5 separate regions of the Homo sapiens genome follow, and regions 2, 3, 4 and 5 are each linked to region 1. Evidence: promoter capture Hi-C in 16 types of primary human blood cells and fetal thymus (Javierre and others, 2016). All regions are on one chromosome and are shown on one strand. Each heading gives the region's core, a stretch centred on a gene start or on the middle of the fragment in contact. The rest is flanking DNA. Distances are from core to core; before and after follow the strand shown.

The links. The method cuts DNA at HindIII sites, captures the fragments that hold promoters and counts their contacts. A CHiCAGO score of 5 or more calls a contact.
Region 2: a contact is called between a fragment that was not itself captured here and the fragment with the promoter of CIMIP4 in region 1, in 2 of 17 cell types (total CD8 T cells and activated CD4 T cells). The highest score is 5.8, in total CD8 T cells.
Region 3: a contact is called between a fragment that was not itself captured here and the fragment with the promoter of CIMIP4 in region 1, in 3 of 17 cell types (endothelial precursors, M1 macrophages and M2 macrophages). The highest score is 6.4, in endothelial precursors.
Region 4: a contact is called between a fragment that was not itself captured here and the fragment with the promoter of CIMIP4 in region 1, in 1 of 17 cell types (endothelial precursors). The highest score is 5.2, in endothelial precursors.
Region 5: a contact is called between a fragment that was not itself captured here and the fragment with the promoter of CIMIP4 in region 1, in 2 of 17 cell types (endothelial precursors and M0 macrophages). The highest score is 6.4, in endothelial precursors.

The regions. Positions count from the first base shown.
Region 1 is chr22:37,006,484-37,009,261 of GRCh38, reverse strand. CIMIP4 (ciliary microtubule inner protein 4) reads left to right here and starts at 1,411. Exons shown (of 6, transcript NM_001163857.2): 1 at 1,411-1,533. The HindIII fragment of the contact is 2,868 bases long and covers 315-2,778 here.
Region 2 is chr22:37,433,688-37,436,465 of GRCh38, reverse strand. No RefSeq gene overlaps it. Among named protein-coding and RNA genes, the nearest start is that of ELFN2, 7.6 kb to the right of the region's middle. The HindIII fragment of the contact is 6,818 bases long and covers 1-2,778 here.
Region 3 is chr22:36,643,588-36,646,365 of GRCh38, reverse strand. All of the region lies in intron 1 of CACNG2 (calcium voltage-gated channel auxiliary subunit gamma 2), which reads left to right. Among named protein-coding and RNA genes, the nearest start is that of CACNG2, 59 kb to the left of the region's middle. The HindIII fragment of the contact is 1,942 bases long and covers 373-2,314 here.
Region 4 is chr22:36,678,397-36,681,174 of GRCh38, reverse strand. The region is part of intron 1 of CACNG2 (calcium voltage-gated channel auxiliary subunit gamma 2); the gene reads left to right. Among named protein-coding and RNA genes, the nearest start is that of CACNG2, 24 kb to the left of the region's middle. The HindIII fragment of the contact is 4,632 bases long and covers 1-2,778 here.
Region 5 is chr22:36,719,208-36,721,985 of GRCh38, reverse strand. The region is part of intron 1 of CACNG2-DT (CACNG2 divergent transcript); the gene reads right to left. Among named protein-coding and RNA genes, the nearest start is that of CACNG2-DT, 17 kb to the right of the region's middle. The HindIII fragment of the contact is 1,383 bases long and covers 760-2,142 here.

The DNA.
Region 1 (2,778 bases), core at 162-2,661:
CTTTGCTGGCTTTGATGAAGTCAGTGTCATGTTGGTGTTGGGGGGCCCACATAGCAAGGAACTGAGGATGGCCTCTGGCTGACAGCCAGAGAGAGCCTGAGACCCTCAGTCTAACAGACTGCAAGGAACTGAATCCTCCCACAGCCACATGAGCTTGGAAGCATATTCTTCCCTAGTGGAACCTCAGATGAGACTGCAGCCCTGGCCAATACTTGGATTGTAGCCTGCTAAGACCCCAATGCAGAGAACTCAGCTAAGCCATGAGTAGACACCCGACCCAAAGAAACTGTGAGATAACAGTTGTATGTTAAGCTTCGAAGTTTATGGCAAGATTGTCGTGCAGCAATAGATAATACTTAGGCAAGAGATGAGGGTGGCTTGGACCAGGGAGTAGGGGGAGTTGTGGAGGTGGACGAAGGCATCCAAATCTAGTGTACTTCGAAGGACTTGCTGATGGGTTGCTTGCGGAAGTAGCTTAGAGTTTTGTGATGTCTCTCTCTGTGCAAGGCAATGTGCTACATTTTGCAAAAAATTGTTTTATTCGCCCATCACCCTTATCCTTAGTGTTGGGTGATATCTGTTTCACATGTGAAGGAAGTTCAGCTAAAGGACTTGGCCAGTCTCTTATCTAATAAGTGACAGGCCCAGATTCTGGGGACTCCAAGTTTAACCACAGCACTCTCTGTTTCCTGGGGAAATCCTGAAAGGCTGGGCTTGCAGGAGGCGTTCACTATACCCACTCTTTGTCCAGGCTGAGCAACAGCCAGACAGGAATGGGCCAGTGCTGGCACCAATGACTTCTGCCTCCTTCTTCTCTGCAGAAAAGAAGTCACTTAATTTTGTTGATCTCCTTCTGTAGCCCTTGTTGTTTAGGAATAGGAGAGAGGACCCTTCCTTTAGTTTTACTCCCAGGTCCCTGATCCCTGGGTGTCCAAATCAGACAGCTCCAGATGCATCTTTCTCCTTCCCCATTGACCTCGACCTACATTTATGCTGTTATACACATCCATGCCTTTAATATTCTCATCCCTTCAAAACTGTTAAGTTCCTAGGCATCCTTCAAGATCCAACTCAAATGGCTCTTTCATAAGTCCTTCCTCCTTTTTCCTACACAGAGCTAGTTCTTCTCCCTACTTAGTGCTTTGAGCTCCCAAGAACATCTTTTGCACTTGGTAGCATCTGAGCCCCCTGTGCCTGGCACACCTGGCATGTAGTGGGGGCTCAACTGACATTCTAGAGTGGATGAGAGAGTGAACAATAATTGAAGCCCCTCCTGCCTTTTCCTGGCCTCAATCCTGGCTTTCTCCTGGCCTCTTTTCCCTACGGGTGGGCCTATCAGCCCTCTGAGGTAACAGAGCCCTGTGTATAGTGATCACCATGGCAACTCCAATGAACATCTTGGGGAGGGCCACTTCCCAGCAACCATCCATTGGTCTTCACCAGTAGTTCTGCAGTGGGGATCTGCACTTCTGGGCTTCAGCACACATCAGTGTGGTTCACGTGTTTCCTGCTGTTATGAAAGAGATTGGAGAGGTGAGGCAGAGACTTATGAAGGGCCAGGGTTCTTCCAGGACATGGGGTTTCATCTTCCTTCTCCCCATTCAGAGTTGCTTGTGAGTGAAGACTGCCTAGACTGGACTTACCTTCCCGCCCTCTTTGACCAAAGTCTCTTGGGATCTCTCTCTCTGGGTCAGAAACTGGAAGTGAGTCCACACTTCCATTGTAGCCCGTCCAGACTGCTGTGGACTGGCAGTGCACTGGGACGTACAGAGCTGCCGTGGGCACGTCAGGTTGGTGGCTGGGGATAGGAGGAGAAAGAAAACTTGGAGCTAACTTGAACTTCACCTAGCTTGAAGATGTGCAATTTAATTTTAGCCCCACCTGGTGAAGTCCTGTGTCTTTTCGGAGCCTCATTTTCTCCATCTGTGAAAGAAGATAAATTAGTAGTGTCTCCGAACACCTTACTGGGTATTTGTGAAGACCAGACTAATTTACCAGATGTGAGAATGCTTGACATGGACTTGTGTTAGTTATCTCTTGCTGCACAACAAATCACCCCAAAACTTAGTGGGCTTAAGACAACATTTACTATCTCACAGTTTCTGTGAGTTGGGAATACCGGTGGAGTGTTGGTGATTTTTCTGTCCCAGGGTCTCTCACAGGCTGCAATCAAGGTGTTGCTTGGGTCTCTAGTCTCATCTCAAAGCTCGACCAGAGAAGGAACCCATTCACATGGCAGGATCCAGCTACTCTGGAGCTGTTGGCAAGAGGCCACTCTGAGTTCCTTGCCCTGTGGACCTCTCCATAGGGCATCTCACAACAGGGAAACTGGCTTCTGTCAGAGAAGATGAGCTGAGGAGAGCTGCAGAGAGTGTGTGAAAAAGACAGAAGTTGTAGTCTCTTATAAGTTCATCATGGATGCAACATCCCTCATTTTTGCCACATTCCATTCATCACTATGTCCAGTCCACACCAAAGGGGAGAGAATTATACCAAGAAACAGGGATCATTGGGAGCCATGTCAACTGCCTGCCACTCTCTGCCCTCTGGCCCCCAATAATGTACATCCCTTCCACATGCAAAATATAGTCATCCCCTCCTAAGATCTTTAAAATTCTCATCCTATTAAAGCATCAGTTTAAAAGCTAGAATCTGGTCATATAAATCAGCTCCAGGTGTGGCTGAGGCTCCTCCAGTGTCGTTCCTTAAGTACAGCTTCTCAGATTCAATTCTTCCCCATCATAGATCTGTGAAACTAAGTAATTTGCCCTGAACACA
Region 2 (2,778 bases), core at 71-2,570, 430 kb before region 1:
TTAGTTAATGGTAATGCACCAATGCTAATTTCTTAATTTTGACAAAGGTACCACGGTTATATAAGATGCTGGCTTCAGGGGAAGCTGGGTGAAGGGTATCCGGGAACTCTCTGTGCTATCTTTGCATTGTTTCCATAAATCCAGAATTATTCCAAAATAAAACATGTATTTTTAAAAAGTCCCTGCGCTGCTGCTGTTGCTGTTGTCTGGCCAGGGTCCCTCCCAGTTCCTCTGCTGACAGGTCCTCTCCCTGGTTACAAGGGCAGGGGTACCTGACCCAGGCTGGGTCACCCTGGCCACAGCAATTGGTCCAAGGGATAAGCATGTGACCCACGCTGGGCCAATCAGAGTCCTTTCCTAGAATTGTTCAGCTTGGAATGGGAAGAGAAGCTCTTCCCACTCTGGCCATGAATCTGTCAGGCCGTAAGTCTGGGCCTGTGGAGGCTCCTGGTTCTCCTGCAGCAGGGACAGTGGGCCTGAGAGAACTACAGCACAAAGAGAGGATGTTGATGGCATTCAAGATGGCCTCCTCCTCCTTCCCAGTCTTCCTCAAGGCAGCCTGCCCTGTTATGGGAGTCAAGATATCACCTTTGAGTGTAATCCAGTTCAAACTGGTTTAAGTTGGGTTTCTGTCACTTACAACCAATGAGTCCTGGGGACTGATGACATCCCCTCAGGTTGTCATGAGGACATGGCGGCATATCTACAACCTGGCACAAGGGAGCCGCTCCTACGTGGTGAGGGGTCTTGTTATCCTCTCCAAGGAGTCTGGGGACTGCCCTGGACTCCAGCCTGCATGGCTGTGGCCCTGACACAGGCTCCCCTCCTGGTCCCACTCAGCCCCTGGTAGGAAGGAGAGGTCCCACTTCAAAGGAGCCCGCCTGGCTCACAAATCCCTTCCCATCTCCAGGCCCTGCTCCAGCCTTCTCCTCTGGGTGTGGGGAGCTGGGGTCTTGGCTGTGACCAGAGCTGGGTCTATGGCGGAAGAGAGGGGAAGTCCCTATCACCGCCCTGGCCAGACCTGGCAGAACTAAGGCACAGCTAGGTGTCAGATGCCAAGGCTGTGCCAGTGCTTGCTCTGAGAATGAGTTGTGATGGGCCATGTGAGCTGGAGTTCCATGGCCTCCAAGCATGAGGGCAGACAGAAAGCAGGAGATGAGAGAAAATGGGGAGATTTTGGAGAAACCAGTCAGAACTACCGGAAGGATCTGAGTGAGACCAAGGCCTCTTCTGTGGCCTGCTCTTACTGCCCCCTCTCAAATCTTCCTCCACGCCTTGCCCCTTCCAGGCGCCCTGCCTGCGTGCTCCTCCCACCTGTCAGGCAGGTTCCTGGAGCATCTCTTCTTGTGTGAAGATTTCCTTTGCCCAGTGCCCACCCCTGGTCCCTAGGGCAGAGCCGAATTCACCAGCCTTCCTGTTCACCCATCCGTTTTCTCTCCTCATGCTGGCCACTCCCTCTTCTTTTCTTCCTTCGTTTGTTCACGCAGGCATACACTTGATCATTTTCCTTAGCAAATATTTTTGGAGTGCCATCTGCATGCCAGACCCTGAGCACGCAAAGGTGAATGGGACCCACCTGCCTTTGCTTCTGTGGCAGTGAGGGAGAGAGGAGGGGCTAGGTTTAGCAGGCAGAGCTGACAGGAGCCCAGGTGGCATCCAGGTGGCATTCAGGTAGCATCTGGGATTTGAGCCTGAGTAACTTGGTAGCAGCCACACAAACCCTCCCTTTGCCATGGAGTCTTGGGAATATATACAATGCATCCCCCTCCCCAGGGACCGTCAGTCCCCCAGATTCTACAGTGAGAGAACCTCAGGAAAGGCATGACTCTGGGAAGTGACAAGCGATTGTAGGGCTAAGAATGGGGCTTTGAGCCTAAAATATCCCCAGCGTCTCGTGGCCACAGCCTGGCTGCATCAGCAGGAAAGCCTGGGGGAATCATCGCCTCTTCTTCACTGTGTGATCCTGGTCAAATTGCTTAGCATCTCTGAGCCTCTGCAGTCAAATGAGAATAACAGAAGTACCTCGTAGATTGTTGTCATTATTCACAGAGACTTTAATTCATGTAGAGCACATGGCACCAAGCCTGAAGGAGAGTAAACACCTCCTTTTTGAGCTATTATTACGATTTTAGGAAGAGTGTGGCCAGGTTGCAGAAAACTCCAGATGCCAGCGTAAGGAGCTGGCGCTTTACCCTGTGGAGTCAGAGACCAGAAGTTTTTGAGCAGAAAAAAGAACATGAAGAAACCAGCCAGTCAGCTCCTTTCTAGCCCCTACAGCATCTGGAACCTCGGAGCCGGCAGCAGGTCAGCAGTGACAAGCCCAGCCATGAGGCCGGTGACCTCCAGCTCCCAGGAGCTGCCGGCTGCCCCAGTTCCGGACCCAGGCAGCAGCCTGCCCCCACCCCCAGCATCTCCCTGGAGGGAGCCAGATAGATGGTTTAATAATGCAGGCTGCCGGGCTGACCTCGTAGCCGCTGAGCCAGCTGAGGCTAACTCCGCTCCCCCTGCTGTGGCTCCCGCAGAATTCCAGAGCTCCCTGCAAGGGTGCTCAGATCCAAATGGCAGCCACACAATAGTGCGGGGTGCAGTGGCCTCTGGCTAGGGGACAGAATAAGTCAGGCAGATGCAGAGATCTGAGCCTTCCTTCCTCCTCCTCCAGCTCTCCCTGGGGGTGTCTCAGAGGAGTCTCCTGGTTCAGAGAGCTGAGAGGAGGCCATCTGCCATGGGGCTGTAAACACTCGGCAGATCCCGCTTCTGTTGGAGCAGGCCTCGGGGTTG
Region 3 (2,778 bases), core at 94-2,593, 360 kb after region 1:
CTGCCTCTGTGTACTGCTAAATTTTAATTCCAGTGAACTTTTTTTTTAGTATGCCAGGCGTAATGTCACTATCTCAAACTTGAGTTAGGAAAGAGAAACATTAAAGGACAGGGGGTAAGTTTCCTCGGCTAATGCTCAACAATACCCATAAAATAGTTATTTCTCCATAAAATGGGAAAAAAGAAATACATATATAACCATGGAAAGATATTTCCCAGATATAGGCTTGCTCTTAAATATTTCACAGAAATCTTTACAAAATCAAGTCAAGCCAATATTTTCTATAGCTTTTGGGGTGGGTGAGCTCAGCACATAATTTTAATTGTTCCAGATTATGTCTATCCCCAACTTCCTTTGTGTCTGTTTCAAGCTTTGATTTCAACCTAATGTTGTTCAATCTTTAGCATAAATTAACGCGAAGGATGTTCTATCCAAAAAAGTCTGACTCTATGCAGGTAATTTTATATTAAAATATGCATTTGACTTTTAAAGTTTGGATACACATGGCTGCTTCTTATAATGTTTCTTTTCACATTTGTTTATGGAAATGGAAGTTGAATGAAGGGGAGGGTGCAAAAGTGAAAGAAGAAACCCTTTATGTGCATTTCCCATTATGAGATTCCTGTAGCTCTAGAGATATAATGTTTCACAAAGTGATTTAGTATCCATAAATGCCAATTTGCAGAGCATTATCCATTGCCGTCAAGGAAGAAAATATATTCTCCCTCTCCCTGCCCAATAAGTAAACTTTGAAAACAATTACAAGCACATGTAATAATAATACAGAAACTAGCATTTCTTTTTTTTTTTTTTTTTTTTTTTTTTTTTTGAGACAGAGTCTTGCTCTGTCGCCCAGGCTGGAGTGCAGTGGCGCGATCTCAGCTCACTGCAAGCTCCGCCTCTGGGGTTCATGCCATTCTCCTGCCTCAGCCTCCCAAGTAGCTGGGACTACAGGCACACGCCACAACGCCTGGCTAATTTTTTGTATTTTTAGTAGAGATGGGGTTTCACTGTGTTAGTCAGGATGGTCTCGATCTCCTGATCTCGTGATCCGCCCGTCTCAGCCTCCCAAAGTGCTGGAAGAAACTTGCATTTCTACAGCAACTTTCCCTGGAGAATTTCTCGGTTGCTTTGCAAACAGTAATTAATTAGACCCCCTAACATTCCTGTGAGGGAGCCAAGAGGTGTGGGTATGCTTTGAACAACCCCCAACACTGACTCGCTGTCACCTCTGGGGTTGATGAACAGATGTTGTTTAAAAACTGCATAGCACACAGAATTCAACATTTTAGAACGTTAATGAAGGACTTAGAATTCTGAGATGCAACAGAGAATTGGATGTGGTGCAGGCTTTGGTCTTGTTATGTGAATTTGATAGAAGGATGAAAGTAACATACTGTTTTCTATGTCATCTGTCATCACAGCATCCAATGGGACTGCACTTATCCTATGGCATGAAGTAACTCTGCCAGGTTCGTCATCCTAGAGATGACCCCATTACCAAGAAATTTTGCCTTAAGGAATATAACCAACTTTAAAAAAACAAAAACAAAAACAAACAAAAAAAACCACTTATATAGGGCTTATTCACCAGGCGCTGTTTTAAGCACTTAGTAACTCATTTGATCCTCACAGCAACTTGTTTTGGGGTCAGTATTATTTTTTATTATTATTATTTCCATTTTACAGGTGAGAAAACTGAGGCATAGAAAGTTTAAGAAATTTGCCAAAGTCATTCAGCCATGCTACCTCTCAGTATTAGCATTACCTGTTAATAAACTTGAACGCTTACAAATTGCCACATTTTCTCAGCTTGATCATGCAGTTTGTCTTCGCAATCTGCTAGAACACTCATGTGATTTACCAGGAGTGGTGAGTCAGTGGCAAGAAGCCAATCTGAAAAGAAAAATAAGCCCCACTTGCTTCAGCACCTTGGAGAGCATCTTCCAACTACTGGCCCAGACAATAGAGCAGCTCTCAAAGACCTAGTGAGGTTCTGCTATAAAGGGGTGAGGCTGAGAACAGGAAGACGTCAAGCTAATGGGGATTGTTGCTCCTCCTTTCTCTTACAAAGATCATGCTTTTATGATGACAGAATTAGGTGTAGGATTTTCAGGCCAGTTTTAGCCCAGTTCAGCTGGAGCCTGGGACCTCACAGCTCTGGTTTTCCCATTCTTGGGCTATTGGGATGTCTGGGGCCTAAAAGCAGATGAGCTTTATACTTAATATTTAGTCCTCCCGTTGCATATGGGTGTGTCTTTCTTTTTTTTCCCCAAATCCCTTCCAGGAGACTATCTTCCAGGGCAATTAAGCTTTCACCGAGGGACCATTGATGTACTTTTTCAGTTTGCCCATAACAGAGGCAGTGAAGTTCATGGTTAGAACAGAGCTCTGAGTTTAGACTGCCTGAGAATTTCTCTCAACTCTGCCATTTTCCGGATGTAACCTTGGGCAAGGTGCTTAGCTTTATTAAGCCCCAGTTTTTTCATCTGTAAAATGGAGCTAATAATGGTAACTGAGTCATGAGATTGTCCTAAGGCTTAAATAAGGTAATATGGTTAGAAAACACATTTTATCATGAGAAGAAATAGGGACTGTGGTGATGCCCCTTCTTGAACAATAAGATTCATGTAACTGACATACGTTCCCTCTCTGCTTTGGCTGTCAGGGAGCTTCGGTTGCACAGAGTAGCATTAGCAACACTGTGAGATGCTAAGACCTGCCCATTGGTGTTTCTTTACTTCTCCTCCAGTCCTGACCTTCCCTTCTGATTAGCAT
Region 4 (2,778 bases), core at 104-2,603, 330 kb after region 1:
CCATGGAAATACAACCAACAAGCAAAAGAAAATGATCCATCGATTAATAGGCAGAGAGATGAACAGATAGATGATAGATAGATCTTTAGCTTCTAACTTACTCGTGAAAAAGATACAAATTCTTAGAATAATAAAAAAAGAATAATTTTTCTGTTTTTCATTCTCATTCTTTTTAATGGATAAATGTATAAATAAAGAAGTTGACAGGAAAAGAAAAGAATCTGAGACATAAAGGCCAGAATCAGAGTTTTTCAGATGTGCTGCTGGTGGTGGTGATGATGGTGATGGTGGTGGTGGTGATAGTGATGGTGATGGTGGTGGTAGTAATTGTAACCATGATGCAGGTGGCAGTAATCATGAAGGTGGTGGTGATTGATGGTGACAATAACGGTTGTGATAAAGATGGTGGTGATGAAAGTGGTGGTAGTGGTGGTGGTGATGGTGATGGTAGTGGTGATGGTGATGGTGGTAGTGGTGATGGTGGTGGTGGTGGCAGTGATCATGAAGATGGTGGTGATGGTGGTGATAATGATGGTGGTGTTAGTGGTGGTGATGGTGGTAGTAATTATAGCCATGATGCAGGTGGTGGTGATCATGAAGGTGGTGCTGATGGTGGTGGTAGTAATTGTAACCATGATGCAGGTGGCAGTGATCATGAAGGTGGTGATGATTGATGGTGGTAATAATGACTGTGATAAAGATGGTGGTGATGAAAGTGGTGATGGTGATGGTGGTGATGGTGGTGGTGGTGATGATGGTGATGATGGTGGTAGTGATGGTGGCAGTGATGGTGGTGGTAATGGTGATGATGGTGATGATGGTGGTAGTGATGATGGTGATGGCGGTGGTAATTATAGCCATGATGCAGGTGGCAGTGATCATGAAGGTGGTGGTGATGGTGGTGATGGTGGTGGTGTTGATGATGGTGATGGTGGTGGTGATGATGGTGGTGGTAGTGGTGGTGACAGTGATGGTGGTGGTAGTGATGGTGGTGGTAATGGTGGTGACGGTGATGGTGGTGGTAGTGATGGTGGTGATGGTGGTGGTAATTATAGCCATGATGCAGGTGGCAGTGATCCTGAAGGTGGCGGTGATGGTGGTGATAATGATGGTGGTGGTAGTGATGCTGATGGTGGTGGTAGTAATTATAGCCATGGTGCAGGTGGTGGTGATCATGAAGGTGGTGGTGATGGTGATGATAATGATTGTGATGCAGGTGGTGATGATGAAGGTGGTGGCAGCAGAGATGGTGCTTGTGATGATAACAGGGATTGTTATCATCCGAATAACTACCATTTGGAACAACTCTTCACGGTGTCCAAAACCTTTAACGTGTATTACTTCATTTTAGAAGAAAAATTCTGAATTTTTCAAAACAACAACTATTTCTAACCAAGTTCCACCGTGAGTGTCACCAAAACTCAGCCAAGTTAAGAGAACAGGGAGAGCTGGAGTGGGCTCTTTCTCCATCACACGTAAGTGGGCAGTGACCTAGGGAGGAACAGTTACAAAAACGAGAGCAAGGCTACAAAAGCTCTCTCCAGTCTTCCCTCAACCAATCGCCTCCAAGTCTATTCACCCAAATCAGTCCCCAACGTTGATAGAACTTAATACCCTTTCACCTGAAAACTGTTTAGTAGATTTCATATGCATAACTGATTGTAATCTGGTTCCTAGTGGATAAATAAAAATCATTTGTGATCATTGAAACGTATTTATTTTTTAATTAGGTAGCAGCCATGAATGAAGAGCCCTCAGAGAGCCATCTCCTATAACCTCTCCAGGAGCCCTACTGACATAGAAAGGGCAGCATTCAGTGGCCGGTACATTTGCTCCTGCCCATGTTTTCTTATAAAGGACTTTAACCCCTGACTGACAGCCCTACCACACTTCACCGGAACTCATCACATGTCCTTTTTTAAAGAAAAGAAAGAAAGAAAGAAGGAAAGAAAGAAAGAAAGAAAGAAAGAAAGAAAGGAAGGAAGGAAGGAAGGAAGGAAGGAAGGAAGGAAGGAAGGAAGGAAGGAAGGAAGGAAGGGAGAAAATCCAAAATGCTGGCAGATAAGCTGCCAACAAAATGATTTCTTTAAAGAATAAACTAATAACTGAGTATCAGTTAAGGCACAGCCAGCTGTGACGTTTCCTCTGGCCATGCCAGGGGCTGCAGTAACTACCTACTCAGTGCTGTGCTGCGAGCATTGATTGGGAGCATTGGCTGTGTCAGAGGGCTTGACATTCCAGCAATGACACAAACCACGTGTCCTTGGGAAGACGGTGTGCGATGAGATGGATGAGCCAAGTAGGGTTTGAGAAGTGGGAAAATTAGGTCAAATCCCTGTGAATGTACCCAGGGAAAGAAGAGGCTGCTGCCGAAGGGAAGCTGTGTCCTTGGTGTTTTTAGAGAAGGGGGTGGTGTCCTAGGTGCAAGAAGAGAAGGTAACCATGGTGGCTCCTGGCCATCGTGGGGAAATGGAGGGGGAACAGGTGTGAGTGACTGGCATGGGGGTGGAAATGAGGTCATATCCGTAGTGTGGGAGCTGTAGGGGGAATGTTATCGCATGTGCTGGGGGAAGGATGGAGGCAAATTGGGTCACGTCTTTGTGGAAATGATGAGAGAATTGGGTCAGAACTGTGGGGGAGAAGGCTTGAGAATTGGGTCGAGTCTTTGGTTAGAAGGGGGAACTGGGTCAAATGTGAATGTGTGTAGAGAGAGGGTAGTAGAAGGTAATAGAGAGAGTGGGCTGATCCCTAAGGTCAGAGAGGAAGGGGAATGGGGAA
Region 5 (2,778 bases), core at 202-2,701, 290 kb after region 1:
GTTATACCAGCAGACATTTACACTTTAGTGTGAATGTATATTTTGAAAAGAGTACCTGAGGTGTGCATATACTACTAAAAATGCCAATATTAATATTACCACTAGTACTGATATTATCACTACCAATGTTTGTTATTTATTGAATACTTACTCCATGCCAGGTACTGTTATTAGCCTGTTAAAGTTATTAAATCATTTAACTATCACAACAGTGTGATAGTTAGGATAATTGTTCAACAAAAATTCACTCCCCTCTGTCTCTCCCTAGGGGCGTACGCTTCTCTCTCCCATTGACCAGCTTTGGCCAATAGGACTTCCCCTTTAATTCTCCTCTTTGCCATCAGAACATGCCTTATGTAGCCGGTGGCCCAAAGAAGATGAAAGACAAATGGAGAAGACCTGTGTTTAATCCACAGCTCAGAGCCAAGCCTAGCAAGCCCCACCTAGATAAGCCAAACCCAAGCCTCCTCCTCCCCAGCCTCTCTCCAGATGCATGAATGAAAAAAACAATAGTTGTTGTTGATGTTACTAAGTCTGGGGGTGGTTTGTTCTATAGCAATAACTGACTAAGACCCACGGGTACTACGAGAACTCCCTGTTTACATATTTAAAAAACTGAGGCACGGGGAGATTCAGTAACTGACATGTGTTCACAAAGCAAGTTAGCGACAGCAAAAATTTGAACCCAACCAGTCTGGTTCCAGCACCTATCATCATACAATAGGGGTGGGGAATCTTAAAGAACAAATCCCAAAAGCTTGTTAACATAACAAACCAAAAGAGGCAAATAACAGCTTCGTTTATGTCCAAAGTCAACAACAGATAGCACCTCCAAGCCAGAACCTGAACATGTTGGGAAAATACCAAGATTGACATGAGCTGAAAGAAGAGGTTTCATTCTCAGTAGAGCTTCAAGGACTCTTCCCAGAGAAGGGGCACAGTTCCACAGAGAGGAGTTCAGAGAGCAGCAGGGCCAGCGCCAGTGGTCATTAACAGTTGTGGAACATGATGAAGTTCATGGCCACCCTCTGGTAAGATGTCACTCATGGTATGTGTCCCCATCCAGCCTCCTGAGGAGGAGAGAAGGAGACAATGGGTCAGGGGAAAAGGAGAGCAAGAAAAGGAGGTAGTTTACATATGAGAGATAGAAGGAAGCTGTCTACCCTGCACTGCGGAATTCCTTTATTAAAAGAACTTTGGTTTGAGCGGGGTGGCTCATGCCTATAATCCCAGCAGTTCAAGAGGCGGAGGTGGGAGGATAGCCTGAGCCCAGGAGTTTGAGACCAGCCTGGGCAACATGGCAAAACTCTGTCTCTACAAAAAAAAAAAAAAAAAAAAAATTAAAAATGAGCCGAGCGTGGTGGCATGTGCCTGTAGTTCCAGCTAGTTGGTAGGTTGAGAAGGGAGGATCCACTTGACACTGGAAGGTTGAGGCTGCAGTGAGCCATGACCTCGCCACTGCACTCCAGTCTGGGAGACAAAGCAAGATTCTGTCTCAAAAAAAGAAAAAAAGAAACCCAACTTCATGAATATCACGTTGTGAGTCCCCTGTGTTTATTTCAGTGTCCTTGATGAGCCAATAGAGTAATCAAGGCACAGAAGAGGGATGTGGCTTACACCAGATAAAATAATACTGAGTAATTTTCTGAGTCAATAGGAATCCAGATCTCTCCAGAGTCCTGGACCAAGCATAGTTTGAGGATGCCATTTGACATCTGAATGTGAGCACTAGAAAGGCCCTTTGGCTTCCTGGGGTCCAAGTTCTGAGAGATGGGGAGATGAGGAGACCCAGAAGGGCCAATGACTGGTCAAAGCCACATGCAAAGCCCACCAGGTTACTCTACGGATTGGAGATATCTGTAGCGATATCTCTTAAAATTTCTATGCCCTCTTGTCTCCCTCGTCACCCCTATGGTTCTCCCACCCTTTCCTCTAACACCCTGAAAAACTTCTCCTGAACCCTAAATAGAGGGCTTCTTGTTCATTTCTTTCTCCTCCTTTCTTTTTGATTCTATATCCCTAAGTTCTTCCAAAAACCTAGTCAAGAATCAAGAAAACCTGATTAGATGACAGCAGGAAAGCAAAGGCCAGGAACACCCATTCATGAATAAATTTGGCTTGCTCTTACCCAAAGAATAAGCTTCAGTTTATAGCCTCTCCTTTTAGTTCACCTAATGTTCCGTCCTCATTCTCTCCTCCCAATACACAGCTTCGGGGTGATTCTACCATAAAGTGAACCAGGCAATTGCTTATGCCCCAAAACCCCACTCATCCACAATTAACACTCCTCAGGCTTGAGTCACGATGGCAGAAGGATGTATTAGTTCCCACATACACACTTCTACTTTACCCAAATAAGTGTGTTTGTGTGAAGGCTACACCACAAATGTGCATATGCAGCTGGGCATCCTTTCAAGGGAAACATGGTGCTCAGGGATGTTTTATCTAGAGAATCCATTGAACTTGACATTGTCAGAAATTTATTTAGGACAAATGCAAACTAGCAGGAACTGTGTAAAATATTCAGCACACAACATGAGTTGGACACAATCAGGTACCCCTGCCGCACCCTTGAGAATCTGGCTTGTGGATGCTCTTCCAACACTGGGACCGTTTGACCACAGGTAAATTCAGCTCATAGAGGTCATCATTGCCTGAGCCAAGCCTGTCACACAAAGTGGTCTGTCTGAACTGGCTCTCAAAACTCACTAACCAGACTGTGCTTCCAGTTGATATGGCATTTTGTAGGCAGCATAGATCAATTGGAAAAGTGAATTA